Regions from separate parts of the Homo sapiens genome. Here regions 1, 2, 3, 4, 6 and 7 are each linked to region 5. Evidence: promoter capture Hi-C in 16 types of primary human blood cells and fetal thymus (Javierre and others, 2016). All regions are on one chromosome and are shown on one strand. The core of a region is centred on a gene start or on the middle of the fragment in contact, and the rest is flanking DNA. Distances in the headings are between cores, read along the strand shown.

Region 1 (2,792 bases), core at 60-2,559, 470 kb after region 5:
CTTTCTTTTGTAAATTGCCCAGTCTTGGGTATGTCTTTATCAGCAGTGTGAAAATGGACTAACGCAGCCACTAAGTTTTGGGGTGGTTTGTTATCCAGTAGAAACTGACTACACCATGATCCCATTTTATTGGTAAGGAAACGAAGGCTTAGAGAGGTGGAGACAATTGCTTCGAGTCATGCCTATTTAAATGGTGGGTCTGTCTCATGCCAGCCTCTGGTCCCTTGCTAGTGTAGCCCTGTGCCTTCTCTTCATAGAAAGAACTAGTTTCAAGATCAAGGTAAGAGCTTGTTCACTCACACTGGGGGACCTATGATTAGAACAGGCCGGACAGCATTGCTGTCTGGAGACTAAAGTGCTGGGTAGGAACCTAAAATTCCTGACTCCAAGTGGCTCTCAAACCTAGCTGCATATTAGCAGCATTGGGTTTTTTAAAAAAAATCCCGATGGCCAGGTCACACTCCAAACCAAATAAATCAGAATCTCTGAGGGTTAGACTCAGTATTTTTAAAACTCCCCTGTTAATTTCAACAAGCAGCCAAACTTGAGAATTAGTGTCTTAAACACTTCTAAATGGAGAAGTTGGTTGGGGTTGGAGAAACTGGAGCTATTAAACCAGAAAAGTCCCCTACAGGATAGACATAGTGACTGTCTCCAAGGATTTGAGGGAGGGGCCTCCCAAGGAAGAGGGACCAGGAATAACAGCATCATTGATTCAATGAATATACATTATGTGCTCAGCTCTGCATTATTATTTCCTCCCTCAAGGATAGCAGAAGTGACAATTATGTAGATGCAGAATCGCAATCACACCGTGACTAATATTATGGTTATATGTTCCAGGTAATAGTAGCAGCATGGAAAAGGCAGAGATTGCTCTTTCTAGCCGGGGCCAGAAAAGGAGGCACTGGTAGTCTTGCAGGAATGAGGAGAACTCTGTGTTCATTAATTAGTGCTGCCCATGAAGGGACCAGGCACTCCAAGTATCCTAGTCAGCTCAGCCTGCTATAACAGAATACCATAGACTGTGTGGCTTAAACAACAAACATTAGTTTCTCACAATTCTGGAGGCTGGGAAGTCCAAGATCAAGGTGCCTGCTGATTCAGTTTTCTGGTAAGGACTCTCTTTCTGGCTTGCAGATGACCACCTTCTTGCTGTGTCCTCACATGTCAGAGAGAGAAGGTCTCCTTCTTTTCTTATAAGGGCACTAATTTCAGAATAGGGGTTCCACTCTCATGACTTCATGTAAACCTAATTACCTCCCAAAGACCCCACCTTTTAACATCATCACAGTCATTGGGGATTAGAGCTTCAATATATGACTTTGGGGGATGCACATTCATCCCATAGCACCAGCAGGCAGGTTGTGGCCTGGCACTGGAGGGTGAAGCAGAGAGGCTGGTCAACCCAGGAAGCTGGGAGGTTGTAGAGGAGAATCTAACACTGAGAATAGGAGGGTGAAGTGGATAGAGGGGGAATAACAACCCCCACAGCCCCTTTGTATCTCTCAAGATATTGGGTACCTGAGTTTGGGGAGGAGTTGGGCCTTCTGGTGGGAGCTAAGTGACTGCAGCTATGAGGGCAGGGAGGCATCTGGTCTTTTTAATGAGGGTGCTATTTGGACCTCTGTACAAGAATTGCAAGTCCTGATCTCACAGCAGTAGCTGCTGAGCCTTCTAGCACTTTCTTTTTCCAAGTATAGTCGTGGACTGGAAGTATTGACCTCAACTGTGGGCTTCCTAGAAGGGCAGAATCTTGGGCCCACCCAAAATTACTCAATCAGAATCTGCACTTCAACAAGAGCCCCAGATAAATCTAGGCACATGAAAGTTTGAGAAGCACTGCTCGAGTACCCTCTACCCACCAGTGGGATCACTATATATACTATATATCCAGCCAATACATGCTCTAGAACCCAGAGTGCCCTCTGTGTATTGAGCCAAGCCAGCCCTGGTTTGGGGGGTAGCAGCCAGCAGAAATTGTCAGCCAGGCCACATCAGGGGCGTGTTAGAGGATACAAAAATGTATGGAGCAGGACTGAAGGTTAAGGGCAGGGAGTCTGCAGCAGGAGTTCCCTTGAGGTCAAGAGTGCTTTGAGATGGTCAAGAATAGAGTTCCTGACTCCTCTCTTCCATCCTTGAAGGCTTTTACTAAATAATGTTTACAATCCATGCATGTTGGCCAAACTGCTAGCTACAGCTTTGCCTCCTGACAACTTTTCTTCCCTTCATTTGTGAGAGGCAAGGAATTATGGATTCAAAGCGGGCCGTGGCTACCAGACCTTTGATCTTCTGGGTCTCAAGTGGTCAGAGAGTCCCAGAAGGCTCCACACACAAGCCCCTGGGCACCTCAGGGAAAGGCAGATGTGTCTCTCATGCATGCCGGTCATCCCATCTGCTAATGACTTCCCTCCTTCCTAATGGTCTTCTCTTTGCCTCAGAATCCACAGCAAGTTGCATTCCTGACTGGAGATGTCAGGGGGACCTCGTGTGAACTGCCAGCACTGAATCGTTTCTGAGGTTGGAAGAAATAGTTGGGAGGCTGCCCTCACCTTCCAGCTTGGAACTGGGCTGAATGCAGTCCTATGGCTCACTCCGCAGGCCACCCGCTTGGCTGGGACACAGCTTTGGCAAGCCTTGCTCCTGGCAGGCTGGACTCATGAGAACCCTGGCATTTCAGAGCGTGTGTCAGGGCATGTGGAAGGAGAATGCAGTGTGGTCACAGGGTAAGCCAAGACCGGGGAGATGGCCTGCATGATAAGAGGGGAAGTGGACCCAAGGGGGTTGGGAGT
Region 2 (3,142 bases), core at 642-3,141, 480 kb before region 5:
CATTCATTCATCAATGGACACTTGGGTTGCTTCCACTTAAATCTTGCTCAAGATTTGAGTGTGTGTGTGTGAGTGTGCATGTATGTCACTCCGTTCCCCATACCAATATTTAAATTTCCTGAAGGTTAATGATTTTTTTTGGATACAGGGTCTCAGTCTGTCATCCAGGCTGTAGTGCAGTGGCACAAACATGGCTCACTGCAGCCTTGACCTCCTGAGTACACGTGATCCTCCTGCCTCAGCCTCCTGTGTAGCAGGGACCACAGGTGCATACTACCAAGACTGGCGAATTTTTTTCATTTTTTGTTGAGATGGAGTCTCACTTTGTTGGCCAGGCTAGTCTCAAACTACTGATCTTCCTGCCTGTTAATAATGATTTTATTCTTGCCAAATCTAATGGGTTTTTTCACGTATATCATATTTCTCGTGTCAAGCTACTAGCCACTTTTCATCTTTCCTCTCTCTAACCCCCACTGTTGGAGGAGGGGGGAGGGGGAAGAGGAAAGTGGAGGGAAGAAATCACTTACGAAGATGCATACAATGCAAAGAGAATAAAAGATGAAAGATGTCGCTGGACCAGGAAGATAAAATGAAGCTGAGGTAAAGACACTTACAAAATATATGAGATCCTTAATAACAGTTAAAAAAGGCAGACAAAGAAGGAAGCAAAATCAGTCACAGGATTCACAATATAAACACAAAATGTCTGCTCAGCAGTACATCTATTCTTATTACTGAGACCTAAATGAAGAATTATTCAGGAGGACTCTTGGCAGACACTTTGCAATATGGCAAGTCTATGCGCCCTACTATATTACCGTCTATCCCTTCCTGAAAACACTCCCCTCTCTAGATGCTCATGACACTGTGCCTTCCTGATTCTCCCTCCATGTCTCTGATGGCCATTACTGATTTCATTCATCAGTTCTTTGCCTTTGCCTTAATGCCAGTCTTCCCCAAGGCTACTCTCTCCCTTTCCTTCTTTTAGTGAACTCTGAATTTATATGACTTCAATTATTATACCTTTACATGAGTGAATCACAAATCTCTTTGTTTGCTTTTAGAACATTGCCCTTATGCAACTATAATCTCCCAGTGATAAACACCTGTTTTGCATTTTTTTAGCTGATTACTTGGTAAGAAAAGTTGCTGGAAATAAAAACGATAAATTTCCCTCTATGAAAAGTGCCATTCTGTTTCATTTTGTCAGACTGATATAGATTCTTAATTTCAAACTATTAAGTAATTATCTGATTAAAACACTGAAATCAAAAGTATCTAAATGGTCTATTATTTTCAACATCCTGAAAGAATTAATGTCGATGCAAAGAGAGGGAGAAACAGAAGATTATCCAAGGGTTAGAAGAATGCTTACTGAGGACCTTTTATTGAAGAGGTTCTTATCTTTAAAATATAAAACCAGATGAGATGAGAAAGATAGAAAGATATAAGCTTTATTTGTTCTATTCTATGCAGAGTAACCATCCAGAGATTGAAACGGTTTTTAATTATAAGATATAAAAACATGCTAAGTGATTTATTCTATTTTTATCATTCATTTCCTCTGAGCTATACATTTATATATGTAATATATACATAAATATACATATCAGAATCATAGAAATGTTTAGAATTTTTAGAAAGAGCAAAGGTCATATTCAAATTCAAAAGGCTGGCTAATACCTTGGAAAGTTTTAGTTTTCATTGTATTAATATTTGTAATTTACATTATTTCTATTACAGTCGCTATTAAAATGCTAAGTAACATTCAGTTAAATGGGGGGAAAAAGACTTAAGTAAGCATAAGACTTGTCTGAGAAAGAAACAAAAGTTAACTGACCATCTTTGAAGACAATGTCATTCTCAACAAACAAGTCCTTTATTCAAAAGCAGCAAATAAAATATTTGTTCTACATAAAGTAGAATATAATATAGTGACTCTCCTGCAATAACATACATTTCAAAATCTAAAACTATTTCCTGAGTCACTCCTTCCCACCTCTTTCCCAAAACAAAGATGGATAAAGGAAAATGTAACACACATTCATATGCAACTGATTTCCAACTACTAGGAAAAGGGTAGAAAGGACAATATGATGTCCAAAAAAGGCTACTGTTTCCTAGATAGTCCATCACAGTGAAAAGTGGACAGCCCTCATTTTTACCTTCTGCAGAAGGTTCTTTTACTGTACTCCAACCTTGAGGTATCCCTTGAGTCTGTGAACATAGCAGAGGAGAAATGTAGAATTCAGGTGTATAGAAAACCATAATAAGGCAAACTCACAAACAATCTTAGAATAGTACCTCCTTAAATCATAAGAAAAGCTTCACATGTTGAATTATATACTGGAAAACCTGTTATGTGAGAAAAAACAAGGCTCAAAACATTTATTTCACGTGTTCCTACAGAATAGAATTGTCAAGTTTTCTACAGGACAGAGAGATGTAATAGGTAGTGGTCTCTGCATCTTCTTCTGAGAGGGGGTCTCTATTTCAGAATAAAACCAAGAACAATCTATGTAAAGAAGGCAGGATTGTCTCAAAGTATCTTCCACAAACTAAAAAGACAGAATTAATCCCAGCAAATCAGCATATGCAATGATCCAAAATCTCCAAAACACAAGTGTACTTAAGTGAAAGAGGAAGAACTGAGAATAATAAAACAAAAAGAGAAAGAGAAAAAGAAGAAAATTAATAAAACCAAAACAGCCCTGATGGGTAGATTTGAAGTGAAGGGAATAGAGACACTAAAATGCTAACATAAGATCATGATTAAGAGCAATCAGCAACTTACTGTGAGTGCTCTGAACTCATTTGGATAATTTTATAAAAGAAAGTTATTTGATAATAAAGGGAAAAGGGAGCAAACTCTGTATGAAGTACAAAAATCAATTATAACTAATGATTAATACAAAACAATGTTTGCCAAATTTGTAAATTAATCAAGAGAGACACTATTTTTCTAGCAAACCCATGTTAAACTCCCTTAAATGTTGGTTGACAGAGTGAATGAGCAACATACTGGTGTCACCTATTCTCTTCACAGAAGAAACCCGGACTATTAAAGACCTTTTGTTAGTGGTAGAAATGATGACATCTGTTACTCTGAAACTACACTCTACCTCAAGAATGGACCTTCCCT
Region 3 (2,776 bases), core at 117-2,616, 260 kb before region 5:
ATATGTTAAGGCTGGGCCTGGAGGCTCACACCTGTAATCCCAGCACTCTGGGAGGCCGAGGCGGGTGGATCACTTGAGGTCAGGAGTTTCAGACCAACCTGGCCAACATGGTAAAACCCCGTCTCTACTAAAAATACAAAAATTACCTGAGTGTGGTGGCAGGCGCCTGTAATCTCAGCTATTCGGGAGGCTGAGGAAGGAGACTCTCTTTAACCCAGGAGGTGGAGGTTGTAGTGAGCCAAGATCATGCCACTGTACCCCAGGTTGGGCCACAGAGTAAGAGTGTCTCAAAAAAAAAAAAAAAAAACAACCCGAATATGTTAATATGATACCTAGAGAATCTTCCTATCATATTCTTCTTCAACTAAGCTTTATTTCCACAGCAGCCCAGAGAGGTGATTTTATAATGCTATCAATTTAAGGTATGGAAACATTCTGCCAACTTTTCTGATCCCTATCTATTGTGAAAACTTTGTAATTATTATTTGAATTTCCTGGTAATCTCACTAATAAAGTAATTGAGTCTATTGTGCACAAGAGAAGCAAAATAATATAATTAATAAGAAATATATGCCTTCTTTGTAATCATATAATTGCCTTGGGCATACATCTGTTGTAAGAACTGCTTAATTATTAAATAAAAGATAAATTTGTGGCTTTGAAAAAAAGATGAAATAGTTTTTGGCCTGAGAGAATAAAAGGGGAAACTCAGCCACCAGGGAGGAAGTCAGAGACTGTTAGCAAAAAGGAAAAGGTTTTAACTTCATTTATAAATAGACACAGAAGAGCTGAGGTTTCAGCCATGTAGGGAGGCTTAGCCTCAGTTTGGATCTTAGGTGTTGAGATGGGGCATAGAACAGACTGCTAAGGTAGCCAGGGGAGTCCAGAGTAGAAGGGAAGTATATCTACACTCTGCTGCACAGACCTCATAGGTGTTGGGAGATAGTGAGACCTAGCTGGACTAAAAGGGGAGAGGGAAAGGGAAGGGAAAATGAACTTTCCTGGGAGCTGGGAAGAAAGACTAGAAGTAGGCTGGTATTGTGCAGTTACATAAAAGTATCAAGACTGCAGTTTTTGTTCGTACTTATCGTCAAAGCCAGATATATCTATTAATTGTTCATGAATTAGAAGTGACAAATAAATTCCAGTTACGGATGGTGAATGTTAGGAAGAAAAGGGGACTTATTATAGAAACAGCATGTGTTCTACAAACAAGCATTTACTCTTACCAGCAAGAATTTCCAGAGAGTTGTATCCTAGGATTCTATCCCATAAAAGCAAGAGCTGATCTGTAGCTAAGTATCCAGAGAAAGCTCGAACCATCCACTTAAATGATATGCGAAGTCTATAAGCAAGGAAAAATAAAAATTAATGTACCACTGAAATTTTTTCTCATGAAAATGCAATATCAGAAGAACCCAACCAATTCTATTCAAGAGTCTTAGAAATCACCTGGGCATTTAAAACTTAAGTACTTTCTTGAAAGCTGCAAGAGTGCAGTGGTGAGAAACCATAAGTCCTCAAATTAGTGGTCTTAAAGTATTAAGAGGAAGAATTACACATGCTGGGTCCTCCTTTACTCTAGAGGTCAGCTTTTATAAAACCCATTTCTACATTCTGTTTTTCAGAGTGTATACTACTTAGCTATCAATGAGCTGACCTTCTGACAGTCTTAACAATTCCAGGCAATCTATAATAATTTGAATTTTTATTCAAAATACTTGAAAGATTGTTCAATGCCTGCATATTTTCTCAATTTAATAAATTATTTTCTACATTTCAGTCAAATGGCTATATAGGATGAATAAAATAAAATAACAAGTATGAGTATAAGGACAAAAATAGTTTTAAAGCTATGAGACATTAGAAATAGATTTCTGATTTCAAACACTTCATTTTAGTTAGGAGGTTATAGAACTCTGAAAGATCAGCCAGAAAATTCAATTAAATTCCATTTTGCTAAAACAATTCTAAGATGTATGAGATCTTACTACTTACAAGTAGGTTATGTTACAATAACAATTTATCTCTGAAATCAGGAAATGAACTCTTTGGCTCTGGTGCCTTAAGGGATCAACCAGTTCTTCATATTTCTGTATTATCTATTAGCATCTAATATCACTTGACTGTCCCTGACAGGTACTAGCTAAACTGTTTGCTGGAATTATCATATTTTGTCAATAAACATCTGTGCTATTCTCTTAAAAGACAGAAAAGGACCCAGAGGTTGCCTTGGTTGGTGTCATTGTATTAATTATCTTAAGACTGAAAAAGATCCTCAAGTTTCAGAAATTCCTCAATACTGCATAACTATTGTTCTAATATAACAAAGTACATGTAGGCACTAGTATTGACTAAGCTTTTTGGGTGGTTTTAGAATATCTCTTTATATATACAAAAGAAACTTTGGGCCACTGGATATTTTAATAACTTACAAAATACATTTGAATTTAAAGTCAAAATTATTAACTTCAGCTTGCTTCATTTTACTCAAATTCTCATAGTGTCATATTTGAGGAATAGTGCCACACATCCCCACCCACCAATATAGAAATAACATAGCATAGCTTTTTAGAAATAAAGCTTATTGTGCTATAATTTATGTATAGTCATCCTCCTACGGTTTCACTTTCTGTGGTTTCAGTTACCCATAGCCAACTGTGGTCACCAACAGTCCAAAAATATTAAATGAAAAATTCCAGAAATAATCCATAACTTTTAAATTGTGTGCTGTTTTGAGTAGCCTGGTGAAAGCTCGCACGGTCCCACTCCAGAT
Region 4 (2,857 bases), core at 176-2,675, 490 kb before region 5:
TAGGCAACTTGGAATTCCTTCATGCAGCAAATATTTACTGACTGCACAGTAATTACTTTGGGCACTGGATTAAATAAATAAAACATCAGAATCAAGGAGTTATTACCAAGACTACCAGAAAGCATGATGTAAGAAATGCATTAACTTTTAGAGGGAGTTCAACAAAAAATGAATACAAAAGCCTAGTTAATAAATACCTTCTTTATTATATCAAAGGCCAGCTAAAAATTGAGTTTTCACTCTAGTTGCCAAACAACTTCCAGGTAAGAAGACACAATACATTCAGAACTTGTAAACCTTGATTTCTTCAATAATAGAAAAATTAGCCAATTCCAATGGTAGAAATATTTTCAAGGCAACTGTACTCAGAAATTTGTTTGATCTTCAATTATATATGATTTTTCTTAGTGCATTTAGCATTTAAAAATCTAATAATTCACAAATATTATTAAGCTACATTTACCTGGTATATAACATTTTCCAACTTGGCCTTCAGCTGGTATACATAGCAGTGGTTTAACTAATATTATCAGTGGCAAAAATAACTTTTAGGAAAAGTTTGTTTAATTGTAGTACTGACACAATGGTTAAAGGATTAAATTACTAAATAGGCTCCCCATTCATAGGGGACCTTTGTCAACAGCCAGAGAATCATATGAGAAAGGCAAAATGTGAATAAAGTGCTTCAGTCATCAAACTCAAAAAGACTGATTCATTTCCACCAAGTTACTGGATAGTGTGCATTCCGATTTTTCTCCCAAGTTTTTTTTCAATTTTCATATTCATTTCAGTGTCTTTCAATTACCCAGAAGTAATCTGGTCCCACATGGGGATGAGACAGGTTAACAGCAGCTAGTATCTCTATAATGCGGACAACAGGGTGGCAGCCTTGTGAAGGCCGAGGCCCACATAAGGCAGGCCCCTGAAAGAGGTAGCAGCCCGTGGGGTCAGGACCCTGGCTACCTACAGAGGGACTGAGCAACTACGTAAACATATTAAGATAACAGAGTCAAGTTTTCACTGTCAGTGAAGTACAAATAGAAAAAGGAGTTAAGCTAGAATTAACCCAAAGTGTTGGACTGAAATTGGAGTTTATCAGGTATCAGTGTGAATTCATGATTTTCAGTATAAAAAAAAAGAAATATAAGGTGTGCATGTTTCTTAACTCTGTCCACTGAGGTCTGGGAACAACAATATCTCAGTAGCAATGAACATACCTAGTGCCCAAATCTTGGTTTCTAAACAGCAATTCAGCTAAAAATAACCAGGGTTCCTTGGAGAAATGGCTGTTTCCAGGATTGAGGTTAAGACATAACACAATGAGCCTGGATACTTTTTGTGCCAATAAGTAGGGAAGAGCTCAAAAAATGATGGATATAGAAGGATATATAAAAGAATAAAGAATATCCTTAATCCTTAAAAGAGGATACAGAAGGATATAGAAGCCAGTTAGAAAAGGATATTTTAAAGAATATAGAAGCCAGTTAGAAAGGATATAAAAAGATATAGAAGCCAGTTAGAAAGGCCTCCCATTAACTAAATTTGGGACAATTTGAGCATCAAAATCATAATAGTAACAAACTCAAAACTGACTGAATAAAATAGGATATAAATGAATAAATGCAGAAGATCAATCTTCAAAGCATTCATAAGTTTTTGAGAATCAGTCTTTCTCAAATTCCTAGTTTCAAAATATGTCTTTGTTATCTCCCAGCATCTTCACGGACAAGATGTTGATATACACTCTGTTTAATTCTCTTCCTTATAGTAGAACGCCAACTAGTAAGTAGAAGGAATGATGGAATTCAAAAAGTTACCATTTAGCAACCATGTGAGCAATAATTAAGTCAGGCAAAAAAAATTTATAGATGCTAGAACTAAAAAGTGAAATGAGGAATGTGATTTTAAATAGTCTTCAAGTATCTCTCCACCAAAAAAAAAAAAGAATTACACATTTGTTCGGTGTGGGGTAAATACCTTTATAGTTATGGAAACACAGCAGACACTATATTCATCAAATGACAAAGATAACACCATTTGTAATAAGGCAAATGATACCAAGTGCCACCCAAAATGATATAATAAAAAGAATCACTCCTGTGATAGTCCAGCCCAAAATGCATAACCTGGGTCTAACAATGTAAAAATATCAAACAAATCCTAATTTAGTTATTTACTACAAAAGTGATGTTTTTGAAGATTACTGGCCAACGTCGTAAAAGTCCAGGCAGTATTATGGAATTTTTCCATACTGAAGACAACTAGAGAGATAGGACAACCGGGTACAATGCATCACCCTGCATCCTTTGGCTATAAAAGGCCATTATTAGGGCAAATGGTGGCACTGGAAGGGGAGCGGAGGGTATCTAGACACAGTGTATATGGGAGTTATTTGCTCTGGTCCTGCAACTTTTCTCTAAATTTGAAATCACTTTCAATTAAGAAATTAAAATTTAAAAAAGAAATCTTTCAGTTCTTCTTCAATTATGCAGGTAGAGAATTCTACTAATTGCGAGCTTCTCCATTACTTTGTAGCTTGTGATTTTCTCCAAGAAAGTATGGTAGCCTTTTAACAATATTAATAACAGCAAACATTAGGCTTTATTAGCTATCAAATACTGTTCTAAACTCTATATACTTGTTGACTCATTTAATCCTCAGCACAACCCTCTAAGGTGGGGGGTGGGTACTTATTAGCGAGATTTCACAAATAGGGAAAGTTAGGGACAGAGAGATCAAGTTATTTGTCCTGTCCGATGTCACAAATCTAGTAAGTGTTATGTAGAGACTTGAATACAGGCAGTCAAGCTCTGCATTCTTACTCACTTTTGGATTTTGTCTATCTGGGAAAGAATAG
Region 5 (3,155 bases), core at 68-2,567:
AAGGGCTTTCCAGCACCACAGAGCTTCATGGAACACCCAGGACCCTGAGATGGCCCCCCTCTCTGATCTCACGTCCTGCTGTTTGCCTCTCACTCACTCCTACTTCTATCTATTTGTACCTCAATGGGGCCACACTCATTCCCACCTCAGGGCCTTTGCACTTGCTGTTACCTCTGCTAAAAGTGCTCCTCCTTTTGCCTGGGAGAAGCTGTCTTGGGATCTTCACAAGACTTTGTCCTTCTTGTGGTTCAGTCTCAGATCACAGTCCCCTCCTTAAGAGACCTCTCCTGACTACCCCTTCTAAATCAGCAGCCCCAGGCCAGGTGCAGTGGCTCACGCCTGTAATGCCAACACTGGGAGGCCAAGGCAGGAGGATTGCTTGAGCTCAGGAGCTTGAGACCAGCCTGGGCAACATAGCGAGACCTCCTCTCTTCTAAAACTAAAAAAATCAGCTGGGCTTAGTGGTGTGTGCCTGTAGTCCCAGCTACTCAGGAGGCTAAGGTAGGAGGATTGCTTGAGCCAGGGAGCAAGGCTGCAGTGAGCCATGATCGCGCCACTCCACTGCAGCCTGGGGAACAGAGCAAGACCCTGTCCCCGCCCCCCAAAAAATCAGCCCCTAATCTGTTTGTATACATCACATCTCCCTGCTTTACTCCCTTTGTAGTACTTACTACCTGAAATAATTCTGCTCATTATTTGCTGACATGCTAGAAAAGTGCCTGGCAAATGATTGACTCTCAATGAAGATGTGCTGAATGCAAGGCTTCATGAATGAAGAGGAAATCTCACTAACGTCTTTTGTAATAAGGACCCAGGTACCTATGTTCAAAAGTGCCTCAATCCTAGTTAACAAGGGCAGAGACCACGAGAAACAACACTGTGTTTAGTAGCAACTTAACAACCAGCCAGCAGTTCTGTCCACACACACACCACCGGGCATGGTTCCAAAGCTAAAAAGGCACTAATTGCTTTTCTATAAGGAGGTAGAACACAGTCCCTCCGTGTTCTTTAGGCCTGATGGTCTGCATTATCGGATCTGTTACCGTGTTAATTGTTCCTGTCTCACACAGCCGGTTTGGGCTTTCTTCTGCATATGTCTGGGATGGTGACGGGTTCCTATATAGAGGAGTACTGGGGAAGCCTCTGTGTGTGTGTGTGTGTCCGTGCATATGTACACATGTGTGTAAAAAGCAGCCACACGCTGAGAATGGTTAACGGGTAGCCAGGCTGTCTGTACTCAGGGCCCTAAGACTGGCCCAGGAAAGGGCCGGGGGAGGTGGGGCGGGGTGAAGGTGGAGCGGGCTTGGCTTGTGCTCACTGCCTTTTCCACAACAGGAGTACAAATGCTGGAGTGAGTGAGGTGAACTCAAGTCGCCTTTAGGAATGGCTGAAAAAGCCCACACCTGGAAATCACTCCCTCCCTGCTCCTCCACGGCAGGTTGCATCTGCGAGACGCTTCGGTCATTAGAGGAATGAGCCGGGAGTGAGCAATTCACCAGCTCTCCAGCACTTGGTGGAAAGCAGCAGGCAAGGATGGATGTGGTTGACAGCCTTCTTGTGAATGGAAGCAACATCACTCCTCCCTGTGAACTCGGGCTCGAAAATGAGACGCTTTTCTGCTTGGATCAGCCCCGTCCTTCCAAAGGTAAGTGTCGGAAGCTGTTATTTTAATTCAGGAAACTATTGAGTTGTGGGAGAAATCAGCAAAGGCAAGGCTGATAAAAAATATATATAACCAAGTCATTGTGAGACAAGGCTAGATAAAGTCATATGTTCAGAAGTTTGGAGAAGAGATTAAAAAGCAGAATAGAGTCAAATATTCTTATTGTCCCCCATGGGGGAGTTGGGCATTCATGAATAGGACTTGGGGGAACAAAAGCAGGGGAGGAAAAGCTGAGTGAAGCAAGAGGGACTACAAGTGTCAAAGCCTGAACTTACAAGCACAGCAGAAAAGGTGTTGTCACCATGCAGCTGTTTTCTTTTCTTGGGGGGAAACCCAGCATGAAGTGATTAAAGTGAAATAATGCTTAGCAGCCAGGAAAGAAAGTGATCACTGTTCACTTGAGGAGCTTTGTTCTTAAGAAAAAGTGGTTCCCTGAGTGATCCTTTAACAAACCAACCTTCTAAAAAGAAAATAATTCAGTCTCTGCTTTCCTCAATTTGTTTCCGCAAAATGTTGCCAGGACAGGAATCGTGGGTCCAGTGATGTACACCCCGGTGGGGGGAAAATCGGCAGGAATTCACCCTTGGCTTCGGTTTTAGCATTCTGCTGTCATCACCTCCATCCCTCCGTCTTGCTCCTGTTTCTCTCTGCAGAGTGGCAGCCAGCGGTGCAGATTCTCTTGTACTCCTTGATATTCCTGCTCAGCGTGCTGGGAAACACGCTGGTCATCACCGTGCTGATTCGGAACAAGCGGATGCGGACGGTCACCAACATCTTCCTCCTCTCCCTGGCTGTCAGCGACCTCATGCTCTGTCTCTTCTGCATGCCGTTCAACCTCATCCCCAATCTGCTCAAGGATTTCATCTTCGGGAGCGCCGTTTGCAAGACCACCACCTACTTCATGGGTAAGTTGCTGCTGGTGACTCTTTCTGGAGCTTGCCCCAGACCCCACTCAGCCCCAGACCTTCCCAAACCTCTGACAATCACAGCAAAGGAGCCCTGCTGAGGGCTGAATCACAGAACATCAGGCTGTGCATGGCTGTGTGCACGGACATTGGTGCTGGCTTGACAGTCATCCTTATACGTTCCCCACAAGTCGGTCCCCATCATCCATGTTGGAGGTCAGTTTCTAAGAGTGAAATAAATTGATAGGAAAACACAGGGGCAGTTGATTTTGCTTGCTTCTATTTGAAGGGAAGAGGGACTTGCTTGCTTCTGTTTGAAGTCAGAAGTGACTTTAAGCTGCTCTATCCCTTTCTGGAAGCTGTTGACTGTGTCCTGATCTATACACAACTTGAGTCCTGGCTTCTAGGGAGGGTGAGGATGATGGAGGAGGGTTCTTTGCAGTTGTTTCTTTTGTTTTCTTAGGGAACAGGGGCTATTTGAAAACCAGTTCTATCGCAGTTTCAGATTCTCTTCTCAGGATTCACTTCCCAGCCTGTTCTCCCCAAAGCTGGGGCCATCTCTGGCAGAAAGAGAGAGAGAGAGAGGT
Region 6 (3,007 bases), core at 208-2,707, 490 kb after region 5:
GGTTTTCTTATTATAGGTTTAGTCCATGAGCTCCAGCTTAGAAACATAAGTGAAAAGAAGAGAGTGTCTTTCTCCCCGGTTCTGGGGATCTGTCCTCCTGCATGGGTCCCATGTCACTTCTTGGCAAGTCTTCATTGTCAGGGCGAGAAAGTACTTTGACTGGCCAGGCCTGGTTCCTCCCAGATCACCGGGTTTCTTAACAGAGGAAATAACATACAGAAGCTTGTTGAAGAGAGAAAGATAAAGCACAGATGCCACAGCCCACTGCAGGGCGATTTCCTTCACTGGTCCTCCCACCCCCATTGGCCTAGCCCAGCTCTGATACTCCAGAGCTCAAGCCACCCCAAAGGACAGCTTCACACAGAGTAGCAGTTTTCCCAGACAGCCCTGGGCAGTGGTGAAATGTCTCAAGGAGGAAGCCAGAGTTGAAAAATACAAGTGAGCCTGTCCTTGAACTTATGTGAGACATTACCATGGGACCCCCAGACAAAACCGTGGGGACTCTGGGTGGAGCTGAACCCCTGCGTACCACAGTCAAGCCATTAACATCACTAGATGTCATTTTTTATCCACAGTCATCAGACCTAGGGACACTAGGTTATTGTACAGGTGAATGATCCCTTATGAGCCATCTAAGTTTTTTTCTAAATGTTTACCATAACAAATAACTCAGCAGCCAGTATTAGCTTACAGTTAGATCTTCACACACATTCTCAACTTATTACCATTTGTGAAGATGAAAGTGAGAAAAGCTAAAAACAAAAACAAACAATAGATAATAAAGCCTCTGGGTAACAAACCAAGTCTTAGCCAGAACTCTTTTGGTTGCAAGCAACAGAAACTCAAGTCAAGCCAATTTAAGCAAAGGGGATATTTACTGATTCCAGAAACTAGGAGTTCATGGAATGGAATTGTTCTCCAGCATGACTGGATGCAGAAACTCAGTAATATTCTCTCTCTCTGCCCATTTCTCAGCTGTGCTTTTCTTGGGATGTTAGGCTTACTCCTATTGCAAGAGATGAGCTTCTTCCCTGTGACTTTAGGGATTGTGGAGAGGAGGGTATGAGTATGATCACAGACAGGTTCCAGTTTACATCATTCACTCTCAATAAAAAGTAAGCTTTTCTCTTCTAGTGCCAGACTCTTCTCCCAGAAGGGTCTGATTGCTCTTACTAGAATGGCATTCCCGATCCATGAGCTCATCACTGCAGCTCAGGGGCAGTGACCCTCTGGCCAGAGTTAGGGGATCCTAACAGACTCATGTGGAATAGAGGAGGGTCAGTTCTGAAACAAAAGAAGGGAGCTGTTACCAAAATAAGGTTAGTAAGAGCTGTTGGCAGTTCAAAAGAAAAGACATGCAAGAGTCAAGTTCCTATGCTGGCCAACAGTGTGTCCTGCTGCAAGGGGTTCTGTGCCAGGACAAGCAGGAAGTTTTCTCCCTAAAAACAGAAATGAAACCCATTTCTGTATGTCATGGCACACAGTATAAACCACACTAATGTGTGGCCTCTGGGAGGTGTTTATGGGGATGTGTTTTTGTCTCGTAGTCAGAATAAATACAATGAAGGACCCATCCCTTCTTTGAAATATGGCATAATTTTGATGGGAACACATCATTTTCCTCCCAAAACCTTTTGTTGGCTCCCAATCCTCTTCAAAATAGAACTCCAACTTCACTATGTGCAATTGCATTATGATGCTGAGGAAAGAGCTTGCTTTGGGTCAGGTGAACCAGCCTGGACTGCTGTTGTGTGACCTGAGGCAAGCTACCCTGAACTTCCAGAGAGAAGCTTGGCAGCATGGTATCATGTCAGAGTCCTGGCCCCTGAAGCCACTCTGTCTTCACCACTTCCCAGCCACCTGCCCTTAAGCACATTTCTAAATGGTTCTGTGCCTTAATTTCCTCATGCATAAAATAGGGATGATGATAACTACCTTCACAAGGTTGTTCAGTGGAATAAACAAGACAATGAATGTCAAATGCTTGGAACAGTGTTTGGCACACAGTAAGTTCTCAATAAAATGTTAGCTATTGTTATTATTGCTATTTGACTGCTCAATATCTAGTAGAGTACATGATCCAGAATAAAATATATGGTGAATGAACCAATGGACTGAACCCTTTATGACCTAATTTTCCTAATCTATAAAATGTGACTATTACTCATCAAACATGCTGTTGTAATGATTAAGTGAGATAGCGTATGGAAAGCCTCTAGCACAATGCCTGTCTTAACAATAGGCAAGTTCTGTTGGTTCCTTTCTATTTTCTCCATTCCCCTACCCCTGAAATTCAAGGTCCTCCATAATTTTTCATGCCAAGCCTTTCTGAGTTGCGAAGTGCCAAAACCTAACTCAAGTTGGCTGACACTTACAATACAGGCTCAAGAAATAGAAAAGTCCTAGGTCTAGCTGAATCCAGAGACTCAAATGACATCATCGGGGCTTGATCTCCTTGAAACTCTTTCTTTTGAGCATGGTTGACTTCAAGGTGTTGACTTTACCTTGAGGAGACCTGTCTATGTGGTGGCCTCCAGTGCTCCAGATTGTCACCAGGTCTCTTAACCTCTCTGCACCTCAGTGTTCTCATCTGTAAAAAGGGGGATAATAATAGCACCTATAGTAAGCCTTTGATACGTATTATTGTCATTGCTGTTGTTATTCTTTAGCAATTCCAGAGGAAAAAGGAACTGCTGCTTCTACTTCTGGAAAACTCCAAGAATTGTGTCTCATTGGATCAATGCAGGCCTCCTGTCCATCCCTGAGGCAATCAGCATGATTGAGGGGATAGACTAATAAGACTGATGGGGCCTGGAATATCCCCCTCCCCTAGGGCTGGGGCCAGACGTGGGGTCAATCTCCTTCCCACATGGACTAAGAATTGGAGAGGGTGCTCTCCCTAAGAAAAACCAAGATGCTAGTAACAGGGTAAAAACATGGGCTGTGCCCAGGAGGGAACAGTTCCAGTGGCTAACCGCCTGGCTCCAGAGTTGAAGTTGATGACTGT
Region 7 (3,133 bases), core at 487-2,986, 290 kb before region 5:
GTCTTGAACTCCTGGGCTCCAACAATCCTCACACCTTGGCCTTCCAAAGTTCTGGGATTACAGGCATGAGCCACCATGTCCAGACAAAAAATCTTTCTGATTATCAGTGTCCTCAATTTAAAAATGGGGGTAAGAGGCCAAGAGCATTGGTTCAGACCTGTAATCCCAGCACTTTGGGAGGCCGAGCCTGGTGGATCACTTGACGCCAGGAGTTAGAGACCAGCCTGGCCAACACTGCAAAACCCTGTCTCTATTAAAAAGTACAAAAATTAGCCAGTTGTGGTGGTACACGCCTGTAATCCCAGCAATCCCAGCTACTCTGGAGGCTGAAGCATAAGAATCGCTTGAATCCAGGAGGCGGAGGTTACAGTGAGCCAAGATTATGCCACTGCACTCCAGCCTGAGGGACAGAGAGAGACTCTGTCTAAACAAACAAAACCAAACAAACAGGCAGAGTGCGGTGGCTCACGCCTGTAACCTCAGCACTTTGGGAGGCCAAGGTGGGCAGATCACCTCAGGTCAGGAGTTCGAGACCAACCTGACCAATATGATGAAACCCCATCTCCACTAAAAATACAAACATTAGTGGGGCATGGTGGCGGGCACCTGTAATCCCAGCTACTCAGGAGGCTGAGACAGGAGAATCGCTTGAACCCAGGAGGCAGAGGTTGCAGTGAGCCAAGATTGCACCATTGCACTCCATCCTGGGCAACAAGAGTGAAACTCCGTAAAAAAAAAAAAAAAAAAAGAAGAGAGAGAGATGCCTAATAGAGCTATGTAAAGATATAAAGTGGCCTGTCCCAGCGTTTCCTGTAGAATAACACCAAAACAAGGAAATAAAATAAATTCTGCAACTATAGTTCTACAAGCTATAATTCAACAAAACGTTCTTGAAATAAAAAAATTTGAAATTACATATTGAAAGAGCACACGATGAACTTCAAAATGTGAACACAAAACAACAAACAGAAAGATATATATTAGTTATTACTTGGCTTAATGAAAAGGAAAAAAATCCTTACAAAATCTAGGCAAAAACTGCAAGTGATTTATAAGGGAAAGAAAATTAGATGACCATCTAATTTTAAGCCAGAGAAAAACAGAATAACATATTTAAGATACACAAGGAAAGAAAATGTGAGCCAAGCATTTTACATGTAACTAAACTTACTTTCAAGAAAAAGAGTACATACAAGCTCTTATCAACATATAAACTTAAGAGATTATTTTCTCCCATGAGCCCTTCTTGAGGTATCTAAATAGAAAACAAGCTTCAGACAACCAAAATGACTAGGATGACATTGACACAAGTACAGATGGTGGGTATTCAATATAATTACTTGTAGAACTAAGACTAAGGGGTTAAATGGACTAGGATATAGTCTGCTCTGGCTATATGCTCTGACAATGTAGACATAGTGCAAAATTGGGAAAAACATATAATACAGACATTTACAAACTCTTCTGTTGGGGTGAGTTTTGTTATCTTAAGACTATTATATGTGAATTGTTGGATAAAGCAAATGAATGATTATAGATATTTTATCCCATCACCTCTTGTATTCTTGAAAACTATTATTAGTATGCAGAAAAAAATTATATATATATGAAAGCTTAAGTAAAAATACAAAGTCTGTATTTGAATTTGAAATTACCTCTGAGCACCTGAAAAGGCCTAATAACAATGACCAACCTACTAGCAATGATTAGACCTAACGATCAGATTGTGGCCTTAAAATATTGTTTACTACTAAAAGATACCATGACTTCTTTGAGAATTGACTAATTTCAGGTTTTGGGTAGAAAGTGTATAAGATAAACTTGGAACATCTTGTCATACCTGATGGCAAGTAAGCTTTCAATGATGACTAGAGTCATGACAAAAAAAACTTTACTCCTTGAAGTGGCTGTCACTGACTGAAGATGGGAAACCTTGAACCTCAATAAGGATAAAAACTGCATGGGAATGAAACCCATAACATATCACATTTAACTACATAAGTTCACAATGATATTAAAAAAAAACTGACCACCTTTGAAGAATAATAAGATACCAACTCATTGCCTTGAAAACTGACAAATAAAGGGAAAGCCCTTTATTTGTCAGGATCAAGCAAATCCTGGCTTTCCTGTATGAATTTGTCTTAGTCCATGTTGTTCTGCTATAACAGGATACCTGAGACTGGGTAATTTATAAAGAACAGAAAGTTATAGTTCTGGAGGCTGGGAAATCCAATATCAAGGTGTTGGCATTTGGAGAGGACCTTTTTGCTGTGTCATCTGATGGTGGAAGGGCAAAGAGTAGCCACCCTGAAAGCCCTTTTAGTAAGGCACACATGAAGCTGGAGCCCTCATAGCCTAATCATCTCTTAAAGTCCCCACCTCCCATACCATTATATTGGCAATTAAATTTCTTTGTTTCTTTCTTTTGAGACAGAGTCTCGCTCTGTTGCCCAGGCTGGAGTGTGGTAACACAATCACAGCTCACTGCAGTCTCCACTTCCTGGACTCAAGTGATCTTCCCACTTTAGCCTCCTGAGTAGCTAGGACCATAGGCGTGTGCCACTATATCTGGTTAATTTTTAAAAATGTTTTGTAGAGACAGGGTCTCACTATGTTGCCCAGGCTGGTCTCAAACTCCTGGGCTCAAGTGTTTCTCCAGCCTTAGCCTTCCAAAGTGCTGGGATTACAGGTGTAAGCCACTGCATCTGGCCTGGCAATTAAATTTCAACATGAGTTTTGGAGGGTACAAGCTTTCAAATCATAGCAGTACTGCCCTAAATTATTAAAATGCAATTTACCAGTTCTCAATACTAACATACGAAAAGAGAAAACTTATATGGTTATTCTCAATGGATACAGAAAAGTCATTTTTACAAAATTCAACCTTAGTTCCTAATAAAAAAACTCTCAGCAAACTTGGAATAGAAAGGAAATTCCTTAACCTTACAAAAGGCTGAAGCCTGCTGCTCATATGTAATGGAGACAGAATAAGTGCTTTCCTTCTTAGATTAAGAACTTGTGAGGGATATCACTCTTACAATGTCTACTCAATGTTTTCTTGGAACTTTTAGCAATGCAAACAGACAAGAAAAAAATAAAAGATATTGATATGGGAAAGGAAGCAGTAAAA

What was found. The method cuts DNA at HindIII sites, captures the fragments that hold promoters and counts their contacts. A CHiCAGO score of 5 or more calls a contact.
Region 1: a fragment that was not itself captured here is called in contact with the fragment with the promoter of CCKAR in region 5 in 2 of 17 cell types (neutrophils and activated CD4 T cells); the score reaches 8.4 in neutrophils.
Region 2: a contact is called between a fragment that was not itself captured here and the fragment with the promoter of CCKAR in region 5, in 1 of 17 cell types (naive B cells). The highest score is 5.4, in naive B cells.
Region 3: a contact is called between a fragment that was not itself captured here and the fragment with the promoter of CCKAR in region 5, in 1 of 17 cell types (fetal thymus). The highest score is 5.1, in fetal thymus.
Region 4: a contact is called between a fragment that was not itself captured here and the fragment with the promoter of CCKAR in region 5, in 2 of 17 cell types (neutrophils and fetal thymus). The highest score is 6.5, in neutrophils.
Region 6: a fragment that was not itself captured here is called in contact with the fragment with the promoter of CCKAR in region 5 in 1 of 17 cell types (neutrophils); the score reaches 5.8 in neutrophils.
Region 7: a fragment that was not itself captured here is called in contact with the fragment with the promoter of CCKAR in region 5 in 1 of 17 cell types (fetal thymus); the score reaches 5.5 in fetal thymus.

What each region holds. Positions count from the first base shown.
Region 1 is chr4:26,015,261-26,018,052 of GRCh38, reverse strand. No RefSeq gene overlaps it. Among named protein-coding and RNA genes, the nearest start is that of LINC02357, 54 kb to the left of the region's middle. The HindIII fragment of the contact is 3,593 bases long and covers 1-2,792 here.
Region 2 is chr4:26,965,170-26,968,311 of GRCh38, reverse strand. All of the region lies in intron 3 of STIM2 (stromal interaction molecule 2), which reads right to left. Among named protein-coding and RNA genes, the nearest start is that of STIM2, 110 kb to the right of the region's middle. The HindIII fragment of the contact is 873 bases long and covers 1,455-2,327 here.
Region 3 is chr4:26,746,980-26,749,755 of GRCh38, reverse strand. TBC1D19 (TBC1 domain family member 19) reads right to left here. Exons shown (of 21, transcript NM_018317.4): 19 at 1,230-1,345. Among named protein-coding and RNA genes, the nearest start is that of STIM2-AS1, 110 kb to the left of the region's middle. The HindIII fragment of the contact is 1,990 bases long and covers 372-2,361 here.
Region 4 is chr4:26,981,057-26,983,913 of GRCh38, reverse strand. All of the region lies in intron 3 of STIM2 (stromal interaction molecule 2), which reads right to left. Among named protein-coding and RNA genes, the nearest start is that of STIM2, 120 kb to the right of the region's middle. The HindIII fragment of the contact is 3,163 bases long and covers 1-2,857 here.
Region 5 is chr4:26,488,646-26,491,800 of GRCh38, reverse strand. CCKAR (cholecystokinin A receptor) reads left to right here and starts at 1,317. Exons shown (of 5, transcript NM_000730.3): 1 at 1,317-1,645; 2 at 2,317-2,568. The coding sequence starts at 1,534. The HindIII fragment of the contact is 9,380 bases long and covers 1-3,155 here.
Region 6 is chr4:25,998,895-26,001,901 of GRCh38, reverse strand. No RefSeq gene overlaps it. Among named protein-coding and RNA genes, the nearest start is that of LINC02357, 70 kb to the left of the region's middle. The HindIII fragment of the contact is 670 bases long and covers 1,123-1,792 here.
Region 7 is chr4:26,774,751-26,777,883 of GRCh38, reverse strand. It overlaps a transcript of TBC1D19 not described here. Among named protein-coding and RNA genes, the nearest start is that of STIM2-AS1, 84 kb to the left of the region's middle. The HindIII fragment of the contact is 242 bases long and covers 1,616-1,857 here.